2 separate regions of the Homo sapiens genome follow, and region 1 is linked to region 2. Evidence: promoter capture Hi-C in human tissues and cell types (Jung and others, 2019). All regions are on one chromosome and are shown on one strand. Each heading gives the region's core, a stretch centred on a gene start or on the middle of the fragment in contact. The rest is flanking DNA. Distances are from core to core; before and after follow the strand shown.

Region 1 (4,551 bases), core at 1,214-3,713, 1.3 Mb before region 2:
TTTTAATTAAAACTCATAATAACCCAAGAAGCTAGAGAGTGTTATTATGTCCATTTTATCCCCACTGTATATTTGAGGAAGATGAGGCGGAAGATAAAAGTAACTATGCCAAGATCACACATCCAGAAAGTGGTAAAGCCTCTCGGTATGCTGTTACCCTACTAGACAGACATTTGTCATCTGGTAGATAAGTTCAAGGAGCAGGAATTTCTGGCTACTTTACTTATTTTTAGTGCGAGATGGCATCCTGCTTCCCATGTATCTTTGGAGTCTCTCAAGTTGGGAATTTGGATAATGGTCAGCTAAATAAAAAATATGCATTACCCAGTTTGAAATATTGGGAGATGGCATCTGGAGGAGTTCTTGTGTCTCTCAGTAGTTAGTTAAATATGTGTCTCCTGCCTCTATAGGCACCCACTTTCATTATTTAATGTTTATTCAGTTATCCTGTGTGCCTCATATTTCACTCTGGGAAGAGCATTCTCTAGATGAGAGAAGCTCCCTTTATAAATGTAATGCGTGTGCCCACAACTTAAATAGCACTATAATCTCCTTTATAATTACCTGGCCCCTTGTTTTTCACATTAAAAAAAAAAAGAAGGAATGATGTTACTGGGTGAGAAAAATCATATGCTTTTATTCTTGACTTAGCTAGGAAATGCAGTTTTAATGTTTTTATGTATGTAATAATACTTGCTAATACAATACAAATAGGAAGCATTACTTTTAAATAAGTAAAAAATAAAAAATGCACCTCCATAAGATGAGGAATTGAGATAAAACTAAAGTCATAAAGCAAGATAATAGAAAAAAAATCAATCAGTTATATATATACACATATATACACATATACATATATATATATACATATACATATATATATATATATATATATATATACATATTTTAAACTCATCACTTCGAATAGAAGTAATGTCAGATTGAATACAAAGTTATTTTTCATGGGAAATATCAAGAATAGTACCCGGGCTAATATATTAAGCCTTCATTAAATATTTGCTGAATGGACAAACTGTTTCCATTTAAAATTTAGGTAATAGGAGACAATAACTCCCAAATAAAAAGACTATATAATACTGATTAGAAAAGTTCAAACAAAATTATGATGGAAATTAGTAATGAAAACTGGCATAACAATGTTAATTTCAGACAAACTAGAAAGCAAGGTAAAATTGAAACTTTTAAAAATTGTAAAATGGACATTAAAATTAAAAAAATATACAGTTGGAAATATTTAGGCTTCAAATTACATGACGTCAAATATAAAGGGAAAGCTGTTGTTCTCTAGTTGGTTCCTTAGAACTCTCTGTCAATTTAAAACATTTTAATATTGCTTATCATAGGCCTAGCAAAATGTATATACTAAAAAAATCACTAAATTATTATCATTACTTTTATCATTGCTATTATTACCATTTTATAACCTTTAAGTATTAAAAATATCAGTTAAGAACATTAAAAATAGCAAAAAAGTCAATGTATTAAGATTAAATAATAATTTGACAAAATATCTGAATATCTGAATTTGTGGAAGAGACAGTTTGTTTTCTACCCTACTACCCTTTACTTTTTTCTTACTCATGTTATCCCCTTTGGAGGATATTTCCCAGTAATCATTGCAGGTAAGTTTGGTTATGTAACTATTATTTCACACATAAGGTACAAGTTGAACCTTTGAATACTTTGTGGATGACTCCATAAAAGAGAGGGGAAGAGTGTTCTAGGTAGCCGGGGTGCTTACATTTACTGTCATACTGAATCCCTGGAATAAAGGTATGATAAATGGATATTCAGCAACTCAATTTGGGCCATGCAGACAGAAACATGAGTCTGGAAGCCACATGATAAGTATTGTGGAGGAAAAAAATAGAAGCTTAATTATTGATATAAATCCTGAACTTCAAATTACAGACTTGTTGGCATGAAAACGAAAGCAACTTTTATCTCCTTTAATTCACCGTTGTTTCTCAGTCCTCTTAATAGCAGCTGATTATAATTCCTAAAGAAAACAGTATATTATAAAAATATCAATGAAATAACTAGGCAAAAATACATAAAGTTTAGTAGATTTTTTTGTGTCAGCAATACCAGTTATAATAGGCAATGAAAAAATGGCCCATTCAGAAAAGTAACGTAATTCTTAAAATACATTGAAAGAAATATAATGAAAATTATGCAGAAATTATGTGGAGAATCCATGTGCTATTGAAAATCTGACACAAAGCCTGGGCTTACCAAGTGAAACTAGTGACCTTGCATATTCCTTCTTCTTGGCCACAGTGCTTCAAGAGTGACCTAAATTGATCCAATCAGATTGAATCTCAAAAGTTTACTTCACCAAGATCCTTTCTCTAACTTGGATATAAAGGGAACTAGCTGGAGGAGGAAGGAGGAGAAACCCAAGAAAACCAGAAAACCAGGAATAAAGCCTGAGATCAGATGATGTCATGCCTATCTTTTCAAACTGTGTGCATAAATAACACCAGTACTAGTTTTTCAGCATTATTTAACTTCTACCAATCATATCTGTGGTTGAAGGATACTTGATTTAGGTTTTTTTGTAACCTGCAACTGAAAAAATTTAATTGAACTTGAACACTTGGAAAATAATACACAGACCTAAGTGTATAAAGTGACAAGACATAGTTTATTAAAGGATCAAAGACCTCAGCCTCATTTCCTTGGTAGAGCTAATAGGCAGATCTAGGCAGTTAGAATGAAACACCAGATAGTCTGTGGGAGAATAAAACCATTGAGCATTACAGCAAGAGGAAGATGCCAGCCTGAAAGGTAATGCAAACTTCACTGACAGAGAAGGAAGAGGGGTTATGGATAATTTGGAACAAAAAGAACATTTACCTGATTATTATGTTTGTGGGTTAGAACTTGCTATCCATTGTTTTACACAAGAAACAAGCATATAACAGATTTATCTGACACAGTCTAGGCCATATAGTAAGTAGATCCAAGCCAGGTGATCGGGCATAGCTTTGTATTTCTACTACCATTTGATAACAAAATATGATCGAAGACAGTAATATCTGACATTGGTATGGATGGGACAGGTAAAGGTTTGAGGTTTTCTTGCTGGTTTTTATCAAGTCTTGGTTTACTGCTGAATAACAAACATCTCTCTAAGTTAGCTGGTTAGCAAATGAAAGAAGTTGCAATAATCTACTTAAAGAGTGTATCACAGTACAACTTCCCTCTTGTATACTTTTTAAATTTCACACTATGCCCCATAAGCCAGATTAGAAAGTGTAGTTAGCCAAGGGTTAGATAACCAGCTAACTCCCACTTTTGAATGAGAACAAAGACCTGAGGAGAGATGGTCCCACTGACCCCAAATTCTACTGAGATCCAGAGGTCTAAGCCAGCTGTGGTCCCTGTGGCACCCTCACTCTCTCCCAAATATGCCTATGACATTGGAGGACTGCTATGCAGCATAACTGGCTTACCGTGAACAAGCATATGTTCAAAGGTTTAATGGTGTGGATTTTGGTTTCATCTTCGCAATTAGCTTTTGTGATTATGTAAGTCTCTTAAACACAGAACCAATTTTATCTTTTGAAATGAGAATAATAAAAACAATAATGTCAGATTGTTTTGAGAATTAGTTAATGCATATAGAAAGCCCAGTAAAGGGCCAGAAAGAGAAGAGAATTTCAATGAAAGATAGTTACTAATTCTTTTCTCTACTTAGTAATTATTCCCCAAGATCAGTGAGTATAGTTTCACAAACCACTTCATACTTTCATGCTCATTGGCAAGAGAAATCTAATGAAAATCATACCCAGTGGTTTTATTATTTTATTACTGCTTAGTTGACAGAGGTATTTGCCAGAAAATATTTCACAATGTATGATGGATTTTCACCAGGTAAAATGATGATATTAACACTGAACTGTCAGAGAAATGAATCAGGATAATTTGCTTTGCGATACACTCTACAATATCTAAAAGACTCTATAATTCCTAAGTATATAGATAAAACGAAGAATGTGTTCCTAACAATATGTTTCTAAAATTTAAAAAATGGTGTTGGAAATACACCTGTATTCAAATACAGCAGTATTTGAAGAAACTAAATAAATATAAAATATTTTACCAATTGTGACATCAAAGTAAACATAATTAAAATATAAAGAAAACCCAGAAATATATAATACAAGCTTTATTACGAATAGATTATAAAAATTGGCAATGGAAATAAACAGTTGGCTTATGAAAGAAATGTATAGAACTAAACAAAAACAAAAAGTGCAATGTTAGCAATACACTCTAATTTTTTTTTGCATATAAAATTGTTAGAAGCATTAAAAGACTGTATTTTCCTCAGCTCTGGAGAGATTAATTATTTCTTATTTATTTCTGGGCATTTAAGTAGAAGGGTGTCTCTTGAGCAAAATCTGGTAGATTTTAAATAATTCATATTTTCACTTATAAGACCATGATGAAATATTTAAAGGAGGAGGAAAAGTATATATGTTTATTTCTTACTTTATTATTTATAATTACAAAATATTAAAA
Region 2 (4,376 bases), core at 1,613-4,112:
ATACTCTAAGGTACTACAAACTTTTTAGAATTAGGCCCAAATTAGGCTCTGGGCTTTACCAATAGAGAAATCTAACCAGATCCATATCGAAGAGGATCCATAAGAGAAAACAATTACACTGCTTAGAAGAAGCACAATTATCACTGGTGCTAAATGTAAAAGAAATTTATCCTATGGCTCTTGATAAATAAGATACTGCTGAACAACATCCTTCACATTCTTACAGTAAACACAACACTGAATTTCAGGGGTATGACTGTTATGGCATCCCTCAAATTAGACCAATAATGTAAAACCAAAATGCTATTCTACCTGTGATAAAACAATGTAGTCTACTAACGGTGCAAGATCTCTAATGCAGGTACTAATATTACCTCATTCCAATCCTACCCTTCCTTCTACACTTTCCCCTTCTATATCTTTGAATCCATCTGAATATGGTCCACTATAATCAGCCCTAAACCTACTTTTCTACCTTCTAGTCCCATTTTTCCTCTAAACCAATGTATTTCAAACCACACACCATCAATTATTGTACTATGAAACCCAATAAATAGTTAACAACCATATTTTTTCTATTTTCAGAATAGAAAAGAACAGAAAAATAAAATGCACTGCATACAATAAGAAGAGTAAGTATTGTTTAGTGTTTTATATGTGTATATATTTCCATGTGCATGTGCACATATAGAAAATAAAAACAATTTCTTGGTGTGATAAACTGCTGAAAAAGTTTAAAATCTACTGTGATAAGCACTCCTTTTTCACTGGCTTCACTGGATTGCTGTCAACACATTTACTTTCCAGTTCTTTATGCCTTTAAGCATACAGCCTTTAAGTATACAGTTCACTCATCTTGGAAGACTTAACCCATCATTTAGCCCAGAGAATTCCTACCTATTCTTTAAAGCTTGTTTGTTCATTCATTCATTCATTCAAGAAAACTTTGTTGGATGTGAACTTGCCAAAGACAATTCTATGGAACCTTCTCCTAAATAACCCCAACTAGAAGTGACTGCTGTCTTCAAAAGCTATTGTAGAAAGCATTTCACATCAACTTATAGAAAGCATTTCACATCAACTTATCTGTTTAATCTCCTCTATTCAGACTAAGTTAACCTCCTTTGAGGTAGAAACCAGAGTCTTAGGAATTTTTTTAATCCTCAGATTGAACCACTTCACACCCTAGGTACTCCTTAGCCATTGTCTAAAAAAAAAAAAATTCACTAAAAATCCAACCACATGTAATTCTACCTATGCAAATTATTCGAAAGGGTAAAATACCAGAAACTCAGAATGTCATTTGATCAACATTTTATAAAGCTAATTAAATCATAAGACAAAAAAATTTTAAAACCAACCAATAGGCAGGGCGCCGTGGCTCACGCCTGTAATCCAAGCACTTTGGGAAGTGGAGGCGGGCAGATTATTTGAGGTCAGGAGTTCGAGACCAGCCTGACCAACACGGTGAAACCACATCTCTACTAAACTACATAAATTAGCCGGCCATGGTGGCGGGGGCCTGCAACCTCAGCTACTCAGGAGGCTGAGGCAAGAGAATCACTTGAACCCAGGAGGCAAAGATTGCAGTGAGCCAAGATCGCGCCACTGCACTCCAGCCTGGGCGACAGAGCAAGACTCCCTCTCAAAAATAAATAAATAAATACCAACCAACAAACTAAATTTCCCTAGTTTTTCATCGACTCTTCATAAAGCTTCCATTCAAAGAAACAAAATGAGTAGGGAAGTTGTAGCTCAAGGTTCTAATTCTAGAAGCGATGCACCAATGACAGTGACATCATTAAAAAGGCCCCTAATGACTGTTAGAGCCGTCTCTAGAAGTTTTCCTGAATGACTTAAACTGATAAAACTTCACATGGACCAACATTCCCAAACATTTCCCTTTAAAATACACTTCCGAAAAATCACACGCACCATCTATTTCTTAGATCTGTAAAGCTCACTCATTTCACCAACTCCTGAAGACCTCTCTAACACAGACTTTTATGACTCTTCCAAATTCACCAAATTTCTTTCCGGTCCTAACTTCAGGGTTGATTCCCTTTTCTCTTCTACAGGAATCACCCCCACCCCAACAATGAAAGGAGATGAAATAAACCAGGAGTTGCAAAGACCAGCGGAGATAGTTACATAGCAGCCTGGAAAAGAGAAAAAAAAAATAAAGAACAAAAAGAGGCGTCTACGGCACCAGACGGTGTGCTCCTTTGTGCACCTATGTTCAGGTATCCCTTGCGCACCAGTCCCACACTTCGCTGGTACACATACCTACTGATAAAAATTAACTGTAAAAGTCAGAAACTCCCACGGTACCTTTCCTTTGGGCTTCTCAAAAATTTTAAGTGATGAACTGCTCTAGAGCTCCGCCCCTTCTTTCCTTACCCTAAAAGTGCAACTTCTGCTCTAGAGAGAAACTTTCTTTTCCCCGAACACCCGTTTTATCCCATCCCCAGGGGAAACGGGGGGAGGGGTTAAGAAAGAGGTCGCCTGGGGGCGCCCAACTCTGCCCTGCCACCCCTGGGCCACAGCCATGCCGGACTTACCCCCAAACAACATAGTTGGTCTTCACATTCTTGGGCCAGGAGAACTCCCCGAAGATCACTTCGTCTCCCTTCACCACAATCTCCTTCTTCTGGATGTTGTACTGTCGCAGGACGCTAAGCACGTCCGCCATCTTCCCCCCCCTCGCCTCCGCCGGCTCGGGGCGCCGCCGCTGCCGCCGCGCCTGCCTCCTTCTTCTCTTGTCGCCTCGCCCTCTTCCTCCTCCTCCTTCGCCGCCGCGACGAACCAACAGCAGCAGCACTAACAGCCGTCCTCGCCTACGACAGCAGCAGGGGCAGTAGCCACCCAGGCCGCCGAGGACCCCGCGCTGTAAGGCAAGGCCCCGCCGCCGGCTGCCCGCGGAGAACGCCTGACTGCGCCCCTCCAGCGAGGCACATCCGCCGCCAGGGGGAGCCGCGACCGCCTGGAAAAGTGCCCCTCCCAGACTTCAGCTGGGCACGGAGCCCACTCACTCGCTGAAACGCTGAGCGCTGGGGCACCGCGCCCACGTACGGCGCACGTACGGGGAACTTTGCCGGGCGCGCGCGCGCGGAGCACGTACCCAGTACCCCGCGGCGCGCACCAAGCGGCGTCAGGTGCGCGCGTACCTGAGCAGTGGGTCAGCACTTCCATCCCCAGCACGTGCACTGAGTATTTAACGAACTGTCTCGGGTGCGACCAGAGGCTCCCCCGGGTCCCTGCTTTGGCCGGGATGGAATTCGGCAAGGATTTGCGGAACACTAGAATTACCTTCCTATTTAGATCGGACCCAGGCCTAGCCAAAGACCTCTAGGACTTAGTGATCCGGAGAAGCCCTTTTGAAAGAGTGGGGCTCTTGGGGTTGGGGTTGGGGTTTTTTGTTTGCTTTTGATGTGGAAAAGAACGAGTTTTGGTTTTTTGTTGGTTTTGAGTGGAAAAGACCGAGTCCAGAAAAAAAAAAAAACAGTTCTGGGCACTGCTCGTCAAGTTACATAGCTTCTCACAGCATCAATTGGTTAATGAAGAAAATGGGGTTAATACGAAGATAAGGTAAACGCGCCTAGCAAGTCAATAAAATATCCTAAATGTTGGATCCTCCCTCTTCATTCTTTGGATGATGACTTTTTCCATCGCGGTCCCTTCTCCCCGCCAATCCCGAAGGGCTATATTCAAAAGGCTGTGTTCCAAGATGTAAATGGGAAAGTTGCCCTAACAGAAACCCCAAACGGTCCAATTTAGAACACTTCCAGACTACCCAATTTTTTAAATGGTACTCAGAAGTCTCAGTGGTGTCCTTGACATGCGTTTTGAGACGGTTAAGATAAGTTCAATATACTATGGCCAACCAAACACATCCTATGGGATTGTTTTTTTTCTTTTACCATGTCAGAAGGAAAAAAGAGGCAACTTTGTGTTTGACATAACCAAATTCCTTGACCTGTTTTGAAAAAAGTCAATCTTTTCACAACGCAGAGGACTACAGATACAGAAGTGTGTGGTTCATTTCCGATATGATCTGTAGCCATTCTGCAACTGTTAGTTTGTGAAATTTTTTTCTGTTCCACCAATGTTTTCACCCCGTAGTATTCTCCTGAATCTCACCCCAAGCACACACATTATAAAGAAATGGCTACAATTACCTATCCCCACATTCTCTATTCATACCTGTGTCAGAGCACTCAGTACCATATTACTTCCCTTTATAGTTTATTTGCCTGCATCCACAAAACTGAAACACCATAGATCTGTGTCCTCATATCCTACTGTCTAACATTATTTGGTACATATTAGTAATAAATGGATGAATTCAATAAATTGATGGAAGCTCCTAGTAAATA

Evidence for each region. Contacts are between HindIII fragments. The study calls those that stand out against the background at their distance.
Region 1: a fragment that was not itself captured here is called in contact with the fragment with the promoter of CDC73 in region 2 in 1 of the 25 tissues and cell types used here (dorsolateral prefrontal cortex).

What each region holds. Positions count from the first base shown.
Region 1 is chr1:194,385,645-194,390,195 of GRCh38, reverse strand. No RefSeq gene overlaps it. Among named protein-coding and RNA genes, the nearest start is that of LINC01031, 1.1 Mb to the right of the region's middle. RefSeq lists a silencer at 2,890-3,090. The HindIII fragment of the contact is 4,998 bases long and covers 1-4,551 here.
Region 2 is chr1:193,120,517-193,124,892 of GRCh38, reverse strand. It overlaps CDC73 (cell division cycle 73), which reads right to left and starts at 2,862. Exons shown (of 17, transcript NM_024529.5): 1 at 2,562-2,862. The coding sequence starts at 2,692. RefSeq lists enhancers at 2,425-2,474, 2,074-2,718, 2,745-2,814, 2,719-3,365 and a silencer at 2,975-3,054. The HindIII fragment of the contact is 7,057 bases long and covers 1,314-4,376 here.